2 separate regions of the Homo sapiens genome follow, and region 2 is linked to region 1. The links are contacts of gene promoters, found by promoter capture Hi-C in blood cells and fetal thymus (Javierre and others, 2016). All regions are on one chromosome and are shown on one strand. The core of a region is centred on a gene start or on the middle of the fragment in contact, and the rest is flanking DNA. Distances in the headings are between cores, read along the strand shown. Region 1 holds the start of KCNE2 (potassium voltage-gated channel subfamily E regulatory subunit 2). Region 2 overlaps LINC00649 (long intergenic non-protein coding RNA 649).

What was found. The method cuts DNA at HindIII sites, captures the fragments that hold promoters and counts their contacts. A CHiCAGO score of 5 or more calls a contact.
Region 2: a contact is called between a fragment that was not itself captured here and the fragment with the promoter of KCNE2 in region 1, in 1 of 17 cell types (naive CD8 T cells). The highest score is 5.2, in naive CD8 T cells.

What each region holds. Positions count from the first base shown.
Region 1 is chr21:34,362,177-34,365,995 of GRCh38, forward strand. KCNE2 (potassium voltage-gated channel subfamily E regulatory subunit 2) reads left to right here and starts at 1,830. Exons shown (of 2, transcript NM_172201.2): 1 at 1,830-1,975. All of the region lies in intron 2 of LOC105372791 (a long non-coding RNA gene), which reads right to left. The HindIII fragment of the contact is 16,740 bases long and covers 10-3,819 here.
Region 2 is chr21:33,969,535-33,973,353 of GRCh38, forward strand. It overlaps LINC00649 (long intergenic non-protein coding RNA 649), which reads left to right. Exons shown (of 3, transcript NR_038883.2): 3 at 1-1,652. Among named protein-coding and RNA genes, the nearest start is that of LINC00649, 40 kb to the left of the region's middle. RefSeq lists an enhancer at 2,146-2,835 and a silencer at 2,234-2,528. The HindIII fragment of the contact is 2,511 bases long and covers 757-3,267 here.

The DNA of each region.
Region 1 (3,819 bases), core at 580-3,079:
TTAATGAGAAGCTTTTGCGGAGTTACAGAGATCCTCGTATTTCTTTAAAATACACCTAATAACGTTAACTCTGCAATAATTTGTAGATCATGTTAAATCTTAGCTATCTTCCTCTTGCCACCCAGTGTGCTTCAAGCCACATGGTTCAGAGCACCATTTAATGTGAAACTCCAATTTTAAAACAAAGTGAACCTTCCTTTTACAAAACCATGAGACAAGTTACAGAGTAATGACCACCCACATGACCTTGAAGTGATTTTGAGTGAGTGAGTGTAACTTCCGTGGCTGCCATTTAAATTGGATTCAAATCCAAATGGCTCCACCTCCATGTCATCAGACCTCTTGTGCCCTGATTCCCTTGGCTAAGTTCACAGTACCTTCCACATCAGGTTGTGGCAATGATTACCTGAGGTTAATACGATAAAAGCACATGGTAAGCACTCCTAAATGATAGCCAATATAAAGACTCAGTTCTCCCAATTCCAAGGGTCCCCACCATGATAGAAAAGGATCTTTTGGTAAATAGAGTATGTTTAGCTCTTGCTAGGTCTTTAAATACTTTGCTGGGGGCCAGGCACCATGGCTCACACCTGTAATCCCACCGCCTTAGGAGACTGAGGCTGGAGGATCCTTTGCGGCCAAGAGTTTGAGACCAGCCTGGGCAACACAGCAAGACCCTATTTCTACAAAAATAAAAATAAAAATTAACCAGGCTTTGTACACACTTGTAGTCCCATTACTTGGGAGGCTGAGGCAGGAGGATCCCTCAAGCCCAAGAGTTCAAAGCTGTAGTGAGCTATGATTGCGCCACTGCACTCCAGCCTGGGTGACAGAGTAAGACTCTGTTTCAAAACAACAACAACAAACAAAAACCTCAAAACCTCTTTGTTGGACTTAACTTCCAGCTCCTCCATGTAGTACCTTAGTACCCTTGCAGCCCGTTTCTCTTTTACAAGACAACAATGTTGTTATAAACTCATTTGGATGTGGTCCCGTGGAGGAGTATTTACCAGAATCTAGCTTATTTAGCGTCTTCAGAACACGGCACTTGCCTGGAATTATACTGACCCCCTCAACCCATACCAACCACCCAGAGATGGCTGTTCTTGGCTCCTCTCCCTGGGGCCCTGTCCTTCCCACATCGTCTTCTTCTTCTTTCTTCTTCTTTCTTCTTCCTTCTTCTTCCTTCTTCTTCCTTCTTCTTCCTTCTTCTTCCTTCTTCCTCTTCCTCTTCCTCTTCTTCTTTCTTCTTTCATTGAGACAGAGTCTCACTCTGTCACCCAGCCTGGAGTGCCGTGGTATGATTTCAGCTCACTGTAACTTCTGCCTTGTGGATTCAAGTGATTCTCCTGCCTCAGCCTCCAGAGTAGCAGGGACTACAGGTGTGTGCCACCACACCTGGCTAATTTTTACATTTTTAAGTAGAGACGGGGTTTCACCATGTTGGCAAGGCTGGTCTTGAACTCCTGATCTCAGGTGATCTGCCCGCCTCAGCCTCCCAAAGTGCTGGGATTACAGGCGTGAGCCACCCCACCCAGCCCTTCCCACGTATTCTGGCAGGGAATGCTGTTGTCCCCCAAGCCTACCCTAAGAGGAAGACTTCTTCTGGGGAAAGATGTTCACTGTACCCAGGCCCTGCCCTGGCTGGAGCTGGCAGGAAGGGTCCCAGAGCAGGAACTTGTGCCACTCTGCCCAAAGCCAGAGTCCCTGAGGCACACACCCCATCAGGCACCAAGGTGAATTCCAACTGCCAGTTAGTATTTAACTTTCCACATACGATTAGATTAAACATGTGGGTTCATAAAAGCATAGGATTGCAGACTGCAGTTGCAAGGGCTTAGATGGTTGTAAGGTGAAGGTGCCCAGCAGGCTGAGGCTTGTGTGCAACCCAGAAGAGAGCTCGCTAACGCCAGCAAGAAGGTTCAGAACAGCCTGGCTTTGGAAAGGAATTTCATCCTGCCCACACACTGCATAGGTAAGTCTTAGCACACATTCTTTATTTTTTGAGGAATTAAGTAACAAAGTTATCTATGTGCCTTTTCCAGAAAATGATAAAAGGAATGATTTTCCTGGTACATGGCCTGGCTCCTCATCCACTCTTCCTTCTTTCCTTCTTGTGTTTTCCTTACTCATTTCTTTGTTAATTGCCTTAGAATGAAAATTTTGAGAGTTTTTAAAATGGAGGATTCATGGTAAACGTAGGTAATCATATTGTTTTCTCTTCTTGATATAAAAATGAAAGACTTTGCTGCCTTTTATAGGCCCAGGTGATGTGAGCGATCTACCATGTTTCAAGAAAAGAAAACTTTGGGGCTGGGCGCGGTGGCTCACGCCTGTAATCCCAGCACTTTGAGAGGCTGAGGCAGGCGGATCACCTGAGGTCAGGAGATCGAGACCAGCCTGGCCAACATAGTGAAACCCCATCTCTACTAAAAATACAAAAAAAATTAGCCTGGCGTGGTGGCTGGCGCCTGTAGTCCCAGCTACTCAGGAAGCTGAGGCAGGAGAACGGCATGAACCCGGGAGGTGGAGCTTGCAGTGAGCCGAGATCACGCCACTGCACTCCAGCCTGGGCGACAGAGTGAGACTCCATCTCAAAAAAAAAAAAAAGAAAGAAAAGAAAACTCTGGACTTTGGGGTCAAATGAGTGTTACTTTCCTAATAGTGTCCTGATTGCTGTTGTCATGAATAACACACATTCATGACAGGAATGGCTGGAATTAGGGGATCATTCTGTAGCCTGGAGACAGGGCACAACTAATGACATGTGTAAGCTCAAATCATGGTCTTGATCTTATGTCTTGTACCCAGTTGAGCCAACTGGTCACAGCAATGAAAACAGTGAGTTATTGGAATGTGTGACCTCTGCTAGGACAGTCAGTGCTGGACACTGGCTTGGGTGATGTGAGTTCTAGTCCAGGCACTGTGGCCAACTTGAGAGGCTTGTGATCTTGGACAGGTGACTTAAGCCCTCTAGGCTATAGTTATTCCACCTATCAGAGAGCAAACCAGCCTAAATGATCTCCAGGGGCCCAGCCTGTGCTAGGACTCAGCAAGAAGCATTCACTGGAAATGTAGGTCCTCCTAGGTTGATACACATGAATTGCCCATATTTGACCATTTCTAACCTATATAAATGGCTATTTCATATAATTCCAGAGAACATAAATGGTAGTTGTCTTAGCATTACTAAAGTAAATGCCTATTATGATATTCTACTTAGGGGTAGGATAAGTATGTATACCAAATATGGTTTGTTTCGATTTGATTTTTGAGACAGGGTCTCACTGTCACTGCTGAGTGCAGTGGTGTGATCATGGCTTACTGCAGCCTTGACCTCCCAGGTTCAAGCTATCCTCCCACCTCAGCCTCCTGAGTAGCTGGGACTATAGGAGTGTGCCATCACATCCAGCTATTTTTTTATGTTTTGTAGAGGTGGTGTCTCGCTATGTTGTCCAGGCTGATCTCGAACTCCTGGGTTCAAGCGATCCTCCCACCTCGGCCTCCCGAAGTGCTGGGATTACAGGTGTGAACCACTGTGCCTGGCCTCCAAATATGGTTGATGTCTATCAGTCAGTTAAACAGTAATTCTGGGAATAAAAAATTGAAATCAACCCACTTATAATTGGAATGTCTTAGCATAATGTCCTTCAACGAAGCTGCTTTCACACACTGTGATTTGTTTTTTTCCTGTGGTCATGGAGCAGGCATGGGCCACTCGGCCACATCTCATGCATCCGTATTCAAAAGCCAAATCCCTTTTGGATCCTGTTTATTTGGCCTGGCCACGGGTGAGCACTTAGACATTTAATCCCTATA
Region 2 (3,819 bases), core at 762-3,261, 390 kb before region 1:
GCCACCAAACTGTCCACTGTGAAGACAAACCATGCATGTTTAGTAGGCAGTGGCTCCTCTTCCCTGTGGGGAGTCCCACTGCTTCCCTGGCCTGGGTGTTCTCTGCCGGTAGATGTTATTGACAAAATAAGCAAAGTCCTCTGATTCTGAGAATTAGAGTTAATGATAGCTCTAGATTGCCTCTGCCATGCTATTTAAAGTCCTGCTTTATTGTCTGACATGAGTTCGGCATCTATGAGGACTTGTCCAGTGCAAAGTACAATCTCCACTGAAAGATATCACCAGCACATCTTGTCACTGTGCTGTAGCAAGCTGGGCAGTACAATGATGTTGGCAGGATCCTGTTTAGGTGGAGGATGGCCACCTGGGCATCAAGAATCTTCTACCCTGATTCCACATTGACTCCCCAAAGTGGGCTTCAGACAGCTCTTTACTTACGTCTTCTGATTAAAGCAGCAGACAGGGTCCCAGCTAGAGAAAAGTTCTGGGAGCAGGAGAGGTGTTGGTGGCTTTAAAACCAGGGGTGAAGATTGAATTAGGAGGTTAGGCAGGAGTAGGATCAAAGACTTAGAAAATGCTTGTTTCCTCCTATTATTCTTATGAGAGCTGATACGGGGCTTTCAGTTTTGGGGGAGAGCCTTGGAAGAGAATGAGGGAATTTAATCAACTAGCGGGACCTTTCCAACTTACATTTCCCAGTGTTTGTTGGATGATACGTTTGCCTAATAAGTTAAAGCTTCCAAAAATAGAAAGGAAAGCTTGGTGACACTAAGCTCTGGCATGCTGTCATCTTCTGGCTAGGGGTCTTGTGCTTCTGTTTTTCTATTTCTGACCAAAGACATAAAATGTGTTGTGACCTCTCAGGTAATGCTGTGGTATCATGTCCAAGCAGTAACTAACCAGAGTGGAGTTTTTACAGGTAAAAAAGTATTGAATAGCTCAGCAACAGGGAGGACTTAATGATAAATTGCTTTTTCAGAAAATGACAAGGGGACAGACACTTGCGGTTCTTCCATTGAGAGCCTTAAGGAAGTTAAGCGAAGCCTCTGCTCACCCCTTCAAGTAACGATGACCCATCAGATCGTGGTCATAACCAGTAGCATCTGAGGCACCCCTAAGCTCTCTGGGCCCCAGATTCCTTGTTAAGTTAAATGAGGTGACTTCCCAGTTTACCATTCTAGGGGTTCCTGAGGAGTTAAAAATGAAGGAGAAAATGCAACATGTACCAAGTGAGCAAGAGCTCAAGGCTTATCTCTGGCACGAAAGTGACCGCTGTCCGTTAGAGATGTGATTGCCCTAGATTTCCTTTAGGAAATGCAAACATTGAACTCTGGCCTTCAGGACCCAAGTCCCGGCTTGCATCTATTCTATACACTTTCTGTTATTTGTTAGGGCTCACAAGGAACAGTTATTTATCTTTTATTTTCTATTTTTTTTTTAGAGATGGAGTCTCACTCTGTCTCCCAGGCTGGAGTGCAGTGGTGCCATCTCAGCTCACTGCAACCTCCACCTCCCGGGTTCAAGCAATTCTCCTGTCTCAGCCTCCTGAGTAGCTGGGACTACAGGCGTGTGCCATCATGCCCGGCTAATTTTTAGTATTTTTAGTAGAGGCAGGGTTTCACCATATTGGCCAGGCTGGTCTTGAACTCCTGATCTCAAGTGATCTACCCTCCTTGGCCTCCCAAACTGCTGGAATTACAGATGTGAGCGACCACACCTGGCCCATTTGTTTTCTTTCAAACCCTTCTGTAAGACCAGTGCTTTAGGTGAACACGTGGACAGAACAAGATCATCACTATTTTGCAATATGAAGACCAACTGCGCTGTGACCAGAAAAACAGAGGCAAAATGTTGAGCTTAATGATACCTTTTTATAATTTGTATTTGGTGTTTCTCAATTTTCCATTGGATAGTTTGAGAGATAAGTACAAGTCAATGACATGTTCTCTTTCGTACCCTATTGTCTAATCCTGCTAACACACACACACACACACACACACACACTGATTACCTAATTTATCTGTTCCCCGATTATTACACTCTCAATTGCTGCAGAGTCTCAGAAGCAGCATGGTGTAACAGAAAGAATATGAGGCTTAGAATCCAAAAGCCAGAGTGTGAATTCCAGCTCCACTGACTTGCTGCGTGACTTGAAGCAAGTCATTACGTGTCTCTGTTTACTCATTTTATGACTTTCCTATTGCCTCTGTAATATAGCACCACAAACGTGTGGACTTAAAACAACATGCATTTATTCTCTTAGCGTTCTGGAGGTCAGGAGTCTGACATCAATTTCGTTGGGCTAAAATCAAGATGTTGGTAGGACCAAGATCCCCGTGGAGGCTCTGGGAGAACCCATTTCCTTGCCTTTGCCAGCTTCTAATGCTGCATTCCTTGCATTCCTTGATTGTTGACCTCTTCCCCCATCTTCAAAGCCAGCAGAACAGCACCTTGTTTCATTGCCTTCTTTACTGTCAAATCTCCCTCTGCCTTCTTCTTATAAGAACACTTGTGGTTGCATTTAGAAGCTGTGATAATCCAGAATAATATCTTTATCTCAAGATCTTTGACTTGGTCTCTTCTGCAAAGTCTCTTTTGCCACAGAGGGAAATATTCACAGGTCCCAGGGGTCAGGCTGTGTACGTCTTTGGGGGACTTTATTCTGCCTACCACACTCATCTTTTTTTTTTTTTTTTTTGGATGGAGTCTTGCTCTGTCACCCAGGCTGGAGTGCAGTGGCATGATCTCGGCTCACTGCAACTTCTGCCTCCCCAGTTCAAGCAATTCTCCTGCCTCAACCTCCCAAGTAGCTGGAATTACAGGCGCCTGCCACCACGCCCGGCTACTTTTTGTACTTTTAGTAGAGATGGGGTTTCACTATGTTGGCCTGGCTGGTCTTGAACTCCTGACCTCAGGTGATTCCCCCACCTTGGCCTCCCAAAGTGCTGAGATTACAGACGTGAGCCACCATGCCCGGCCCCACACTCATCTATTAAGTAGAGCTAGGAATTCCTATCCTAAGGGACACAAAAATGAAAAAAGATAAAATTTGTGAAGAGGCACATAATGAAAGCCCATACATGTCACTGAGTTCAGAGGAGGGTGGGTCTGACCTCCCATTGGCTGGTCTCTGCCTGATGGACATCGTGAAGAAGAGAGCCAGGACTAGTGTGGCTGGGGGATGTTCAGGGGCCAGAGTGGCTTCAGGTGCCAGCAGCCCTGGCCGAAGGATGACTCCAGGAGCAAGGCTCAGAGCCGAGTGGAAGAAGCTTCATAAACGCAACTGAGCCAAGCATGATGGGATGTGCCTGTGGTTCCAGCTACTCAGGAGGCAGGTGGGAGGATGGCTTGAGTCAGAAGTTCGAGGCTGCAGTGAGCTATGATCACACTACTGTACTCCAGCCTGGGTGACAGAATGACACCCTGTCTCTAAAAAGAAAAGGCACCTGGATGCTCATGACCGAGATGGGGTGGGGTGGGTGGGGTGGGACAGCCGCACTTTATAACTTTGCTTTCAGCATGATGTGGATTAGTGTCTCCCATGTGGGAAAATTATGTTTACCACTTAGAGACCTGATAGTGCTTGCTTACCCCATAACGCTGGACGGTGGCAGGCTTAACTCCCCCATCAAGGGCCTTAATGTATTTGGGGCCCTAGTCCTAGCAACAGCAGCAAATCTCCTTTTTCTTTTCCTCGAGCTGGTTGTTCACCAGGCAGTTGGGATGTTAATGGGAAGAGAAGACACACACAAGTCCCTTGTTTTCAATAAGGCAGTCTGGTCACGTCCTTAGCAGGTTATTAATCTTTTTCAAACCCCT